2 separate regions of the Homo sapiens genome follow, and region 1 is linked to region 2. The links are contacts of gene promoters, found by promoter capture Hi-C in blood cells and fetal thymus (Javierre and others, 2016). All regions are on one chromosome and are shown on one strand. The core of a region is centred on a gene start or on the middle of the fragment in contact, and the rest is flanking DNA. Distances in the headings are between cores, read along the strand shown. Region 1 holds the start of MAN1A2 (mannosidase alpha class 1A member 2). Region 2 holds the start of WARS2 (tryptophanyl tRNA synthetase 2, mitochondrial).

What was found. The method cuts DNA at HindIII sites, captures the fragments that hold promoters and counts their contacts. A CHiCAGO score of 5 or more calls a contact.
Region 1: the fragment with the promoter of MAN1A2 here is called in contact with the fragment with the promoter of WARS2 in region 2 in 2 of 17 cell types (monocytes and total B cells); the score reaches 10.6 in monocytes.

The regions. Positions count from the first base shown.
Region 1 is chr1:117,364,756-117,370,521 of GRCh38, reverse strand. It overlaps MAN1A2 (mannosidase alpha class 1A member 2), which reads right to left and starts at 3,073. Exons shown (of 13, transcript NM_006699.5): 1 at 2,037-3,073. The coding sequence starts at 2,338. RefSeq lists an enhancer at 2,008-2,147 and a silencer at 3,018-3,837. The HindIII fragment of the contact is 7,016 bases long and covers 1,569-5,766 here.
Region 2 is chr1:119,136,071-119,142,039 of GRCh38, reverse strand. It overlaps WARS2 (tryptophanyl tRNA synthetase 2, mitochondrial), which reads left to right and starts at 1,387. Exons shown (of 6, transcript NM_015836.4): 1 at 1,387-1,485. The coding sequence starts at 1,396. WARS2-AS1 (WARS2 antisense RNA 1) reads right to left here and starts at 1,644. Exons shown (of 7, transcript NR_125975.1): 1 at 1,247-1,644; 2 at 227-293. RefSeq lists an enhancer at 1,306-1,615. The HindIII fragment of the contact is 7,742 bases long and covers 1-3,780 here.

The DNA of each region.
Region 1 (5,766 bases), core at 1,824-4,323, 1.8 Mb after region 2:
ATTACTACAGACTCTTTTCTGATATAGTAAACAACAGCAAATAATACGCTAAAGCAAATGTCAACTGATATAACCACAGAAATACAAAGAGATAACACAAGGATCCTTTGCCACCTGAACTCTATTTGAATTCTCGTTTTCCAAAACTCAGGAACCGAATAGATTCCAAAAACTGCATTGGAATCTATCCAGACTCACATGTATCACTTGCTATCCAGACTCTTACTAGCCAAAACTCAGGGCATGGCTCACAAACCACCCCTGCTATCAGAACAATAACCAATCTCTCATTCCAAACTCAGGAACCCAATAGTTTTAGATAGCTAAATACATATGCATATATATCCAAGGGCTTCATAAATTTAAGAATTCTTGTTTAAACTATTTATACAGACTGTTAAAAATGTGAATAAAAGGCACATATCTGTATTTTCATTCAAATTTCATATTTTAACTCCATTTACTGAGAATTTTTGTGTAAATGTTTTTAAACTAAAATGTGGTCATATTATTTTAAACTTTTAGACCATTCAAAATGTATTTTTTAAACTGCTTAGTACATGACAGATACTATTAATAATAGAGCTAAGTAATGTTAATGTGTGGCTGTTGTGAAACAGCTCTAAAAACAGCCTTAACACATTTTTTCAATATATTTCATATGTTATACAAATACCATGCGAAATAAGATTTTCAAGGAAAACTACTTTCACCGTTAATTTTTCAGTAACATATTTCACAGATCATATTAGTGTTTTCTTAAAGTCACAACAAGCAAAGTGCAAAATTAAAGAAACAAATACAGGAGTACAGTAGTCGAAAATGGCAAAAATTCCAAATTAACTTAGTTACAAAAGAATGGCATGAAACAATATTAGAAGTAACTACTCCATAAAATTCATCCAAAAGTCAAAGAACCATCACACAAGTAATGAATTAACTAGGTTGAGAAAAAAAGAAAAACCAGTTCTCATAAAACAGTGCATTTTCCCAAATATTTAATGTAGGCTTACACGTGAACCTAAGCTTTTTCGGTGCTTGACAAAAAGTTAAAACTATCATCAGATGGGAAATGAATTCAAGCACATGATTTTTTTTCCCACATACTCAAGAATTATTTTAAGAAACAAGGAAAAGATGGCAGGTTTAAGAAAAGTCAACTACTTTCCCAAACTCTTGAGTACAAATATAAAAATTATAAAAATTGTAACTAGAGCTCCCATTTTATCCTAGTTTGGCTATGCTCTCCCCAGAGCTCACTTTAGATTTAGTGATCTGAAAGAATGTGAACCCCTTAATCAACCAAATTCCAATAGTTGCTTGACACAGTCCATCTATTACATTAAAAGAGAGAGCAAAATTAAGTTTCACAAAAATAAATCTTGTCTACAAGCCTCACAAAGTGCAATAACTTAGGATTCAATACCTTTTAACTTAACTGATTTCATATACAGCACCAACACACATCCCCAAAAAAAGAACAAAAATCAGGATATTTTCACGTTAAGAAATGACAGGTATATTCTGCCCACGTTTGTCATCCTAAAAAGCTGACTCACTACTAAGCTTCAACTACAAGCCAGAAAACGAGAGCCCTCTGGGAGAGCACACCCAAAAGAGCTGTCAAGGTTCGATGCTTTGATTTCACATGGTGGCACAATGACTGACTCCAACACGTTATTAATAAATGCAGGCACAGCTTATGTCACCATTTCTTTAGGTTAAGTTTTCATACCTCCCTTCCCAGATGTCCACATTAGACACAACTCTGAACGCAAATGTTTTTCTTATATAAAACCGAAGAGAAGAACGACTTAGGTAGGACTCCAGTCCTACCAGTCTATGGACTCTACCATAGACTGGAGGTAGAGTCCCTCCAGTCTATGGTTTTATTCAGCCAGTCTTGAAGTAACAATACAATATTTATGACTCGAAAAATTACATTTTACTGCAAGAAAAAAAAAAGACAGATTCGATCCAATCACCGTACCTTGCTCTGCCAAATGTTAGTACCAGAACTTCTGAAATAAACAAACCTGTGTCTATGTTCATCGGGTCCATGGATCAGGAAGACTCCGGGGTTTTTAGCCCCTTTACCGGCATCTACATGTGGAATTAACACATCTTCTAAACCCAAATCAAAGCGTTTGTGTTTTGAAGAGTCTGGAAGGAAAAAGAATGCCCCAAAACACAGAGTGATGAAGGCACTAAGAATAAGGAGAAGAATAAACTTCTCAGAAAGTCTCAAGGTAGCCCTGTGATGTGGGAAGGAAGGCGGCCCCAGGTTCAGAGGTGGTATCCTACGTCCAGAGAGGGGCAGCAGGGCTGGGGTAGTCATCGTTTACGCTCTTGGAGAGAATACTTTAGAAAGTTCTCATCTTATGTCAAATGTAGAATACATTGAACTGTCTTCAAAATCTTGGCCAAAATGGGAAAACTCAATTTTGCTCCTCTTAAAGGACTGTTGTGCTTTTTAAGAGGGCACGTCATTCACGCCCATCCATTCCCACTCAGAAACGTGTGTGACCTCCCCCAAACGATCACAAGTTTAGGTCCTGCGATATCCTCTTCAACATCTGTACTTCATCGGATTATTACAAGCCTCCTCTTCATTCCTAGGGGTAGATCAGGCAAGCCACACTGCAGAAAAGCTGCAAGGTGGGTTCTTCCATTCCTGCACCTCAGTGAGATGCTCAAACGTAGTCTTCCGCCCCGAAAGGGAGACTGGCGACATCCGAGGAGTTGTAGAAGGTTCACTTGATCTCCTTCGACGCTTCTATTCCAGAATCTCTTAACCTTAGCGGTGGAAAAAATAAGGGTCTCCCACGGACGTCTGCAAACAGGGAGGAAGGTCTCCCACTTCGCTGGGAAGCCGAAGCAGCGGCGCTGGGCGAAGTAGCAGGAAGGAGTTCTCGGCCGCCCGCGCTTCCCGGCGCTGCCTGGCAGGAACCTGGCGCCCGGCTGAGTCCCGCTGCTGCCCACTCGACGGCTGGCGCGAAGGGCAATAGCGTCCGAAACACCTGAGTCCGGCCAGCCGCCGCGGCCGCCGCCGCTGTTGCTACCGCACGGGTCTGTCAGGGAGCGGAACTTCCTCCTCCGGCGGCCACTGAGAAGCCCCGGCGTGTCCTGGGGGAGGGGAGGCGCGGCGGCCGCCCCCGCCGAGCTCCTCCTCCTCCTCCTCCTCCTCTTCCTCCTCCTCCTCCTCCTCTCCGCGGCCGGTTCAGTGAACCCCGGCGCCTGCTCCCCGAGCTAGGCCGCCGGCCGCAGTGGCCGAGCCCTCGCGCCTAAGAAGCCGAGCCGGGGCCCACGCTCCGAGAGCCCGGGGTAGGCGCCGGCTCATTCCTCACTCAGCCCTGGAGCGGCGGGAGGGCCTGGGCGCGCGGGAGCAGCCGCGCCTCGGGCGGGCAGAGGTCGGCCGCGTCTCCTTCCTGCCCGGCCGCGGGGGCCTCCTCCGCGCCGCCTCCGGTGGCTCGCAGCTGCTGGCTCTGGCGGCGGCTGCCAGAGAGGCAGCGCGCCCACGCCGCTCGGGGCTGCGGCCCGGTCCCCGTACCCTGCCTCCCCAGGCCTGGTGAGCGCAGCAGCTGCTGGGCCGACACCCGTTGGGCTCACGCCGGAGAGGAACCGGAGGGCGGGGGCGATGGGACCCGGGCCGGCCTACCGGCCCCGGCTCGCGAGTGGGCGTCCCCGGGCGGCGGAGTGTGAGGTGCGCGCGCACGCTCCCGGCTCCGCTGCCGCCGCCCCTCCCCCACCCAGCCTGGCTGCCCGGGCTCCGGCCTCGCGCCGCTGCCGGCTCCAGCAGCCCGAAAGCGTACTGCTGCCGCCGCCGTCTGAGCGCGAAAGAAGAGAAGGTCGCCGATCTGCGCTGCCACGAGAACTTCACCGGTGCCCAGGGCCTTGCCACCGCCAGTTCGTGGGGTTGACCCAGCGTTTGGGCGAGAGGGAGCGAGGGGTTGGGTCGCGAAGGTTTCGCTGAAATGTAGTGTCACCGGAGTTAATGGCTTCTGATGGCTTAGGTTAACGTTTACTGTGATTCTTTGGAAGTCTTGTCTTCAGCGATAGACCGTCAGGCCCGAGGATTCAGCAACAGGGTCTCAAACTTCCACGCAGCAGCCCATGCTCACGTTATTGGGCCCCCGAGGCTCGATTAATAGAGCACCAACATGTGCCATGTTACGTTTTTAAAATAAAGTGGTGACCCTGCTCCTTCAGCTGGGCTTCCTTTCAGAGGAATCTAGGTACCCCCGATATGACAGGCGTCTCTTCATTGTTCAGTTTCTGGGGCACGTTCTATCATCTTCACACACCTCATCAACCCCCTTCCCATAAAAGAGAAAATGGATGAATAAGGAGGTGCTGAAACCCAAAAAGGCGACAATATTGTTTACGTTCAGGCTTAAAAACAATCTGAATCAATTCTGTTCTCCGTAGTATTGAGGAGAGCCATGTTGTGATTAAGTGCAAAAGATTTCCTTGCAAGATACATAGACTCTTGCATCCGATTTACTTGCAGGTTGTTTTTGTTCTAATATTGTCATTCCCTGTACACATCCTTTACTGATGACTGGGAATTGGAGAGGAGGCCCTTAAATGTCAGGAGAGTAAGTCAGCCTTAGCTTAAAAATCAAGCAGAAAAGTCTCATGTTCATTGGCACACTTGTAACTACATTCCAGTCTCCCAGTCTGCATTATTTCTAGAAGCTCTGCATATCTAACTGCCTACCACATGACAAAAGTCATTGTCATTGATCCTGCTTCACCAAATAAAAAGTAAAAATATTGAGGGCCACCTCTCACCAGTTCACCCAGGGAGACTGGTAAGCAAGGAGTGCCCGGTCCCTAGTGAGATTTATGTTGAACATTTGTGAAGAGTAGATATAAGAAACTTTTAGCCTTCCCAATATGTCTTTATAAAATGTGCCAAATTTAAGAATAAGTCTCTAATGTTGAGACTCCGTAAGCCAAAGTGGGGGGGGCGGTGGGGAGGCGGGGAAGAACACACTGTTTTCCTACTGTTGAGATCATTAGTTTCCATGAAAAGTTCAGGGGAAATAAATACTGAACTCTGAATGAAATAGCAAGTTATATAAATCTTGAAAAATAAATATTACCTAGGTTAACACTAGACTTAACCACAAGAGATTTCAATCATGAAACCTGACATAACCTAGTTGACAAGTATAGCTTAAGCAAGTAAGACCTCATTGCTGATGGAGAAGACCCCTTTTCCTTTGCTTGTCTGTTTTGCAAAATTCATTTTTCCTTCATGAGAGTAAAAACAATTTAGGGGTTATTGCAGATGTCCAAATGCAGCCAGCAATTTTAAAGTCATTGATGATACCGTCAGTTATCACACTCCTACACCAGCAATGAAAATACTGTATACATAGTATTACATATATCCACTCTTCTAAAGGCAAGTCTGAGTTTTTAAAGAATCATGTTGTTTAAAAAAAAAAAAGTTGCAAATGTATCCATTAATTATAATTATATGCACTTAAAAACATAGAAAAAGAATATTTGAAAAAGATTGCAACTATTCTGTTAAGATACTGGTTTTACGTATGATTTTCTCCATTGTATTCTGTTGCATTATATTTACAATTAAATAAAAATTATAAAGGAACTGGTGCCTGAAAAAGTTAAGGTCAAATTTCAAATAGGTAGACTCGGTAGTATCAAGATGAACACACAGACCGGCCCATCTGAAGGCAATCGGCAGAAACAGTATGCAGCCTGTTCTATGTATGTGTGTATGTGTGTGTACAC
Region 2 (5,969 bases), core at 138-2,637:
TTAATGGGCATCACATTTTGGAAGTACTACAAGCACCTCAAATTTAACAGCCAAAACCAAACTGATCAGCTTTGTTGAAGACTATAACTTGATTTCCTAGTTTTTTTTTTGCCTTCATCCCTTTCCTGCTCACTTCTAAATTACACCAATTATACTTGAACTTCACCAGTACTTTGTATACCTACAAGATTATCCTATATGGTTTTAATTTACTGTTTTGTCTTACCCTGGTAGATTTCAGCTCCTTTATAGGCATCTCTTATCTCCTACCTCTCCTTGGTAATTTTCAGTAGCTGGATGAATTATAAACAAAACACATAAAGGAATTGTCATGAATTTCTTCCAGTTATATTTTTACTGAAACACTCGTTATCTGTCTGGGAGATTTTTAGGTGAATTAACAGAAGCAGAAAAACTGTATTAAACTTTCTCATAACCCCAAACAAAACAATTTCTTCCATCAGGTATAACCTTCCTGCAGCCTTCCCTAGACTAGGTTGAAACACCACAGTCATAACCACTCCTCCTTAAAACTTGCGGTGCTTGCTTCTTTAACACCTATTAAGTGTACATCATTTATTTATCCGCTACTCTATTAGACTGTACACAACTTGAAGACAAGATATGTCTTTCTCTGTACCTTCAGTGCCCAGCACATTACGGTAGGGTTCAACAAAGTTTACAGGACGAATGAAATAAGGCCACATAAGTCCAGTGCGGTGGCACATGCCTGTAATCCCAGCACTTTAGGAGGCCGAGGCAGATGGCTTGGCTTGAGCTCAGGAGTTTGAGAGAGCCTGGGCAACATGGTGAAACCCTGTCTCCACCAAAATACAAAAATTAGCCGGGCGTGGTGGCGCACCCTTGTGGTCCCAGCTACTCAGGAGGCTGAGGCAGGAGAATAGCTTGAGTCTGGGAGGTGGAGGTTGCAGTGAGCCGAGATCGCGCCATTGCACTCCAGCCTGGGCGAGAGTGAGACCTTGTCTCAAAGAAAAAAAAGGGAAATGAGGCCACACATGTCTAAAAAGACCACTTATATTACCCTCTAAGAGAACTGGGAGTTTCTAAACAAACTTTTTAAAGGTTGCCTTCACATAGCTAAGATCAGAAATGCAGCCTACTTGACTTTCTTCCAGTCTAAAGCGTTGCTACTAATAACCCCCAAGGAAATTCTCCTTCCAGGAAGGCTGAGCAGACAAGGGATCCAGGGAAAAACACTAAAGCCCCACCCCGCTCCTGTCCCCACCTGCTCGGCAAGAACTGCAGTCCGCCCGATAGCGGCTGCGCTGCGCAGCCTGGAGGCCCAAGCCGCGCCCAGCAAGCAGGAGTCGCGAGACTGGGATTGGCTCTCTGAACAGACGTCATTCCAAACAAGACGGCTCCGCCCTTCTCAAGATGGCGCTGCACTCAATGCGGAAAGCGCGTGAGCGCTGGAGCTTCATCCGGGCACTTCATAAGGGATCCGCAGCTGCTCCCGCTCTCCAGGTAACCAAAGACGGCCCTTCCCTCCGCGGCTTCCCATCCCGCGAGGTTCTTCTCATCCCACTGCCCTCTATTTATTTCTCTCCTCCCGCTTCTTAGGGAAAGTACATGCCTTCCCTCGCCTAAGGTCTACTCGTCTATGACTGTCGGCCTGCTCAGAGCGTAGTGACGTTGCAAGGATACGTGATGACGTAAAGGTTTCTTGGTGGAAAAAGCGCGCCGCTTTCTGACCTCTTGCCGCCACCTCCAGTTCTGGGAGCGGAGCGCCGCCGCTGTTGCCGGGCAACGCGGTGAGCCTACCCCGCGTGTGATGTTTTCAGAGACGGGTTGTTTTAGAGACTGCTCTTCTTGTGGTCTTATTACTGTTTTTACCCTCCTTACCCTAACAACACGCTAAGGGGCTATCGGAGAGAGTAGAGAAGTTTTGTTAGGCATTGGGCAGCTTGGGTCGGGGCAGCAGGTTGGCAGTGTGGTACTTGAGCAAGTGTCAGTGCATCTTCCATTCTGGTTGCTCCTGGTGGCTCCACAGCACTGCTCTATCTAGCAGGCTGTGAAAGAGTGACCGCAAGCTGCTACAGAGTTTGTCCTGTCCTGCGCTTGACAACACTGCTGTTACCATTAATCTCGTCGTACGGAGACCATGTCGCGGCCTGGTCTTATTGGGAATTGTCTTAAATATTTGGAATTTTACCCTCATAGCAAAAAAGTCAGGGGGAGGGGATACCCTTTCAGTTATTCAGGATTTTACCAAACGTCTTCCAAGTACAGTCTCAGTGGCAAGCACTTTGACATACTTTATCTACGGGAGATATATTCTGGGAACTAGAGAGAAAGGAGAGAATGTGATTTTATTAGGTAATTTCCCGGCATCATTTGCATATGTATTGCCATAATGAGTAGGTGTGAGGATGTCGCACCTATTGTAACTGTTGTGTTGAAAACAGCGCTAGACAGGAAGGTAGCCTAGAGGTCAAGGGTTTGGTCTGCCACTTGACAGCTGTGTGACAAGTCACAATCTCTCTGGGACTTTTCTTCTTTTTTTGCTCATATTGAGTGGAGGAAGAGAGCTGGACTGATTGACACGTTAATGTTCTTTCAACCTCTGGAAAATCTATAGTTCCATGATTATGAAGCCAAAACAAAGCCAATGAGAGTAATTATGAAAACCAAAATTTAAGTTCAACTTATTTTTCTAGTCATGTCATAAATTTTTTGAACTTCCGTTTTTTATTAATGTGAGCCTCACAAAATTCTTATAAGCTAATATATTAATATATACCGGAAAGCTGCTTGTCAGCAAACAACTATTCAAATGTCACCTTAAATTTCAGCAGCAATGTTAGGTAAGACAATTCAAAATTAGATAAATTTATCAAAAATTCCTCTCCTTGAAATTTGAGGGTTTGATTCTGCAGAACTAGAATGAGATGATTATTTATAATTTATAGCACATTAACACCTATGCTATCAAAGTAGCTAAGCCGTAGACCCAAACTTCCCCTTATTCCAAACTAAAGAATTGAAGATGTCTTGAGAATAGAGAATCAAAGAGAGAGAGAAAAAAAAGACAAACTGCAGCCTGCTAATGACTGCCCAGGGAAGTTTAAGACACTAAGTCATTATAAATGCTAAAGAAAAAATTTCTTAAACCTCTACTATTGTTTCAGTGGCATTTATGAATAGGGCTATTAAAGTTAATTATTAATCTAGATTGTTTCAAGATGTAGAATTTCCAGTACCGATGAATGTTTCTAAACCTTTAATTTAGCTTTGAGTAGAATAAGTATTAAATGTGAGAGTATTTTTTTAAAGTATAAATCTACATATAATTTCAGTCATTGAAAATGATGGTTTGAAAGATTAATGTGGTTTTTTGAAAGACTGAGAAAAGATACAAAATTGTGTTCATAGTGTTATTACGATGTTATGTTTATATATAAGTGTTTATATAAACGTATACATAGAAAAAAAGCCTGGAAGGGAACAAACATTTTTAACTTTTTTATTTTGCTTTGGCCTTCCTAAATAGTGGGTTAAAAGTTATTTGTTTCCTTTTATAGCATTACATATTTTTCACATGTCTAAATTGAAGACACACACTTTTTAATAACCAGAAAAACGTTTTGAAATCATAAATCTTTATACAGATCTTTAGTCATTAATATCATTTGTGATATTTTAGGATTCTGAGGAAGATACTTGTCCCACAATGCTGTTATTAAAATGGCCTTAGAAAAGGACTACTAAAAATTTATGGCCACTTTTCCTGTATGTATCTTCTTTTTCTCTTGAAAAGCTTCCTTTGAAGTCAAAGGGATTTTGTGAACAGATGCAGAAATATGTGAAAGAGGCATTGGATTCTTAAACCAGATGCATTAGACATTTTTATGATATCTCATAACCTTTGTAGAAAAAAATTATTTTGCAAGAGTATAGTATAATGGGAAAAAATGTATATTTATCATATGAATGGTTCCATCAAAAACCAAGAAATAGCCAAGTTAGTTTTTATTAGCCTTGGCTGTGCACTTACTCCCTTAGGTGTAAAGCAAAAGTGAATGAGCCATAACAGTGCTATGTTAGAAACTCTAACTAATAAAGTGTTGTGATTCCTAAGTTGTTTTAATGGTTTTTAGTGTTTTCTTTTTTTAAAACAAAATCTTGGGTAAAAATGTTGGCATAGGGCATCTTTGCTTATCTCAGAGGATGCAGATGTAAACTCAAGTTGAAAATAAAACAGGGAGAAACAGGAATAACAGCACATCACTCCATACTCATTATGGGATGTCTACAATTTATATGAAAACGGTTTATTTTGCCAGGTGTTGCCTGACAGAAAACTGTTGAAATCTGACAAGATGAGCGTAGTCATAAAGTCAGAGGAGTTAAGATCTGACATGTTCTGTTTAAATGTTGATGGTATTAGGTAAATTTAAGCCTGTCATCATTGGCCAAACACAGAATCCATACTTCTTTAAGCACTAAGTCATGATTGTATTGTGCAAAGAGTGAAATATTGATGGTTAGTAGATTTTTGCAAAAGTATTTGTTATTCAGTTGAAGTATGATAAAGTGTCCACATTTTATTGCAGTTGAACATGTTTCATTATTAGCGGTTCCTAGTCTGGGTTTGGCCAGTATTCACATAATGTTCTTGCTGTTAACTATCGCTAAGTATAGCCATTAGATGAAGAATTACGCCTAAAAAGAAAAAAAGCGTGGTTTAAAATTTTTGACCCTGTATTTAATTCTCACAAGATTTAAATTTTTTTAATTTTAAAATAATTTTAGATTTACAGAGTTGCAAAATTAGTACAGAGAATTTCTGTATACCCTTCACCAAGCTTTGTCTTGAATAATCATAATACAGTTATCAAAATCAAGAAATTAATATTGGTACAATAATAGTAATTTAGCTACAGACTTAGTTCAAATTTCACTAGTTTTTTCACTGTCCCTTTCCTTAGTCCAAGATCAAATCCAGGGTCCCACAATGCATTTAGCTTTCATGTCTCTTCTAATGCATACATTTTCTCCTTCATGACCTTGGCACTTTTGAAGAGAACCAGTCAGTTATTTTGTAGAATGTCTCTCAGTTTAGGTTTGTCTGATTTTTCTTTGTGTTTAGACTGAGGTTATGGATTTTTGGCAAGAATACCACGAAGAGATATTGTTCATAACAAGGCCTTGAGGCAGGTATTGCCACCTTATTTCAAACGTGAAGAAATAGTCTTTGGTTAAGTAACTTGCCCAATGTCACACAATGGTGGAATTAGGATCGTAAGATTTAATGTAGGCATTTCATTCCATATTTTGCAATTAGTATTTGTTATTGTAGGTTTCTGGAATGTTAATGACATTAAATTGGCATAGTGTTCCCACTGACTTTTAGCTTTTCTCTGCCATGTATTGTTCATGCAACATGCAACATGAGCTAATCAGCATGGTATGTGTTCAAGAGCTACTACAATCATCTGGGAATTTTGCTAGTTGATTACTCTGCCAGTTTGATGAGGTTACTTCATCTCTCATGGCAAAAAAAGGTGTTGCGTGGATCCACTCTAAAGCTCCTTTTAATCTCAGTCGGTGAGTCTTATTTGTTTAAAGTGCTTTTGTGGTTGGTTGCTTTTGTGAACTGACCTAGTTTATTAAAATGATAATAATATTTAAATTCTTTGCAATATAGCTTTGAGGAGCTAATGAAAACTACTGATAGTAACTGTTGAAAATATAGAGGAAGGAAGAACTGTAGCTGAATGCTGAGGATTTATGCTAGCAGATAGTACGGCAGCCATGGCCTGGAAATGCTGAAGAGAGTGATGCTGCTGACCTCCAAATTCTTGCTCAGTATATCTTTCGAATGACTGCAAGTTACAGAAGAGCTGTCTGCAGAAGCTTCTACAACTATATGTACACACACACACACACACAGACAAATATATATTTTTTATACAAATTTATTTATTTATTTATTTAAACATCTATTG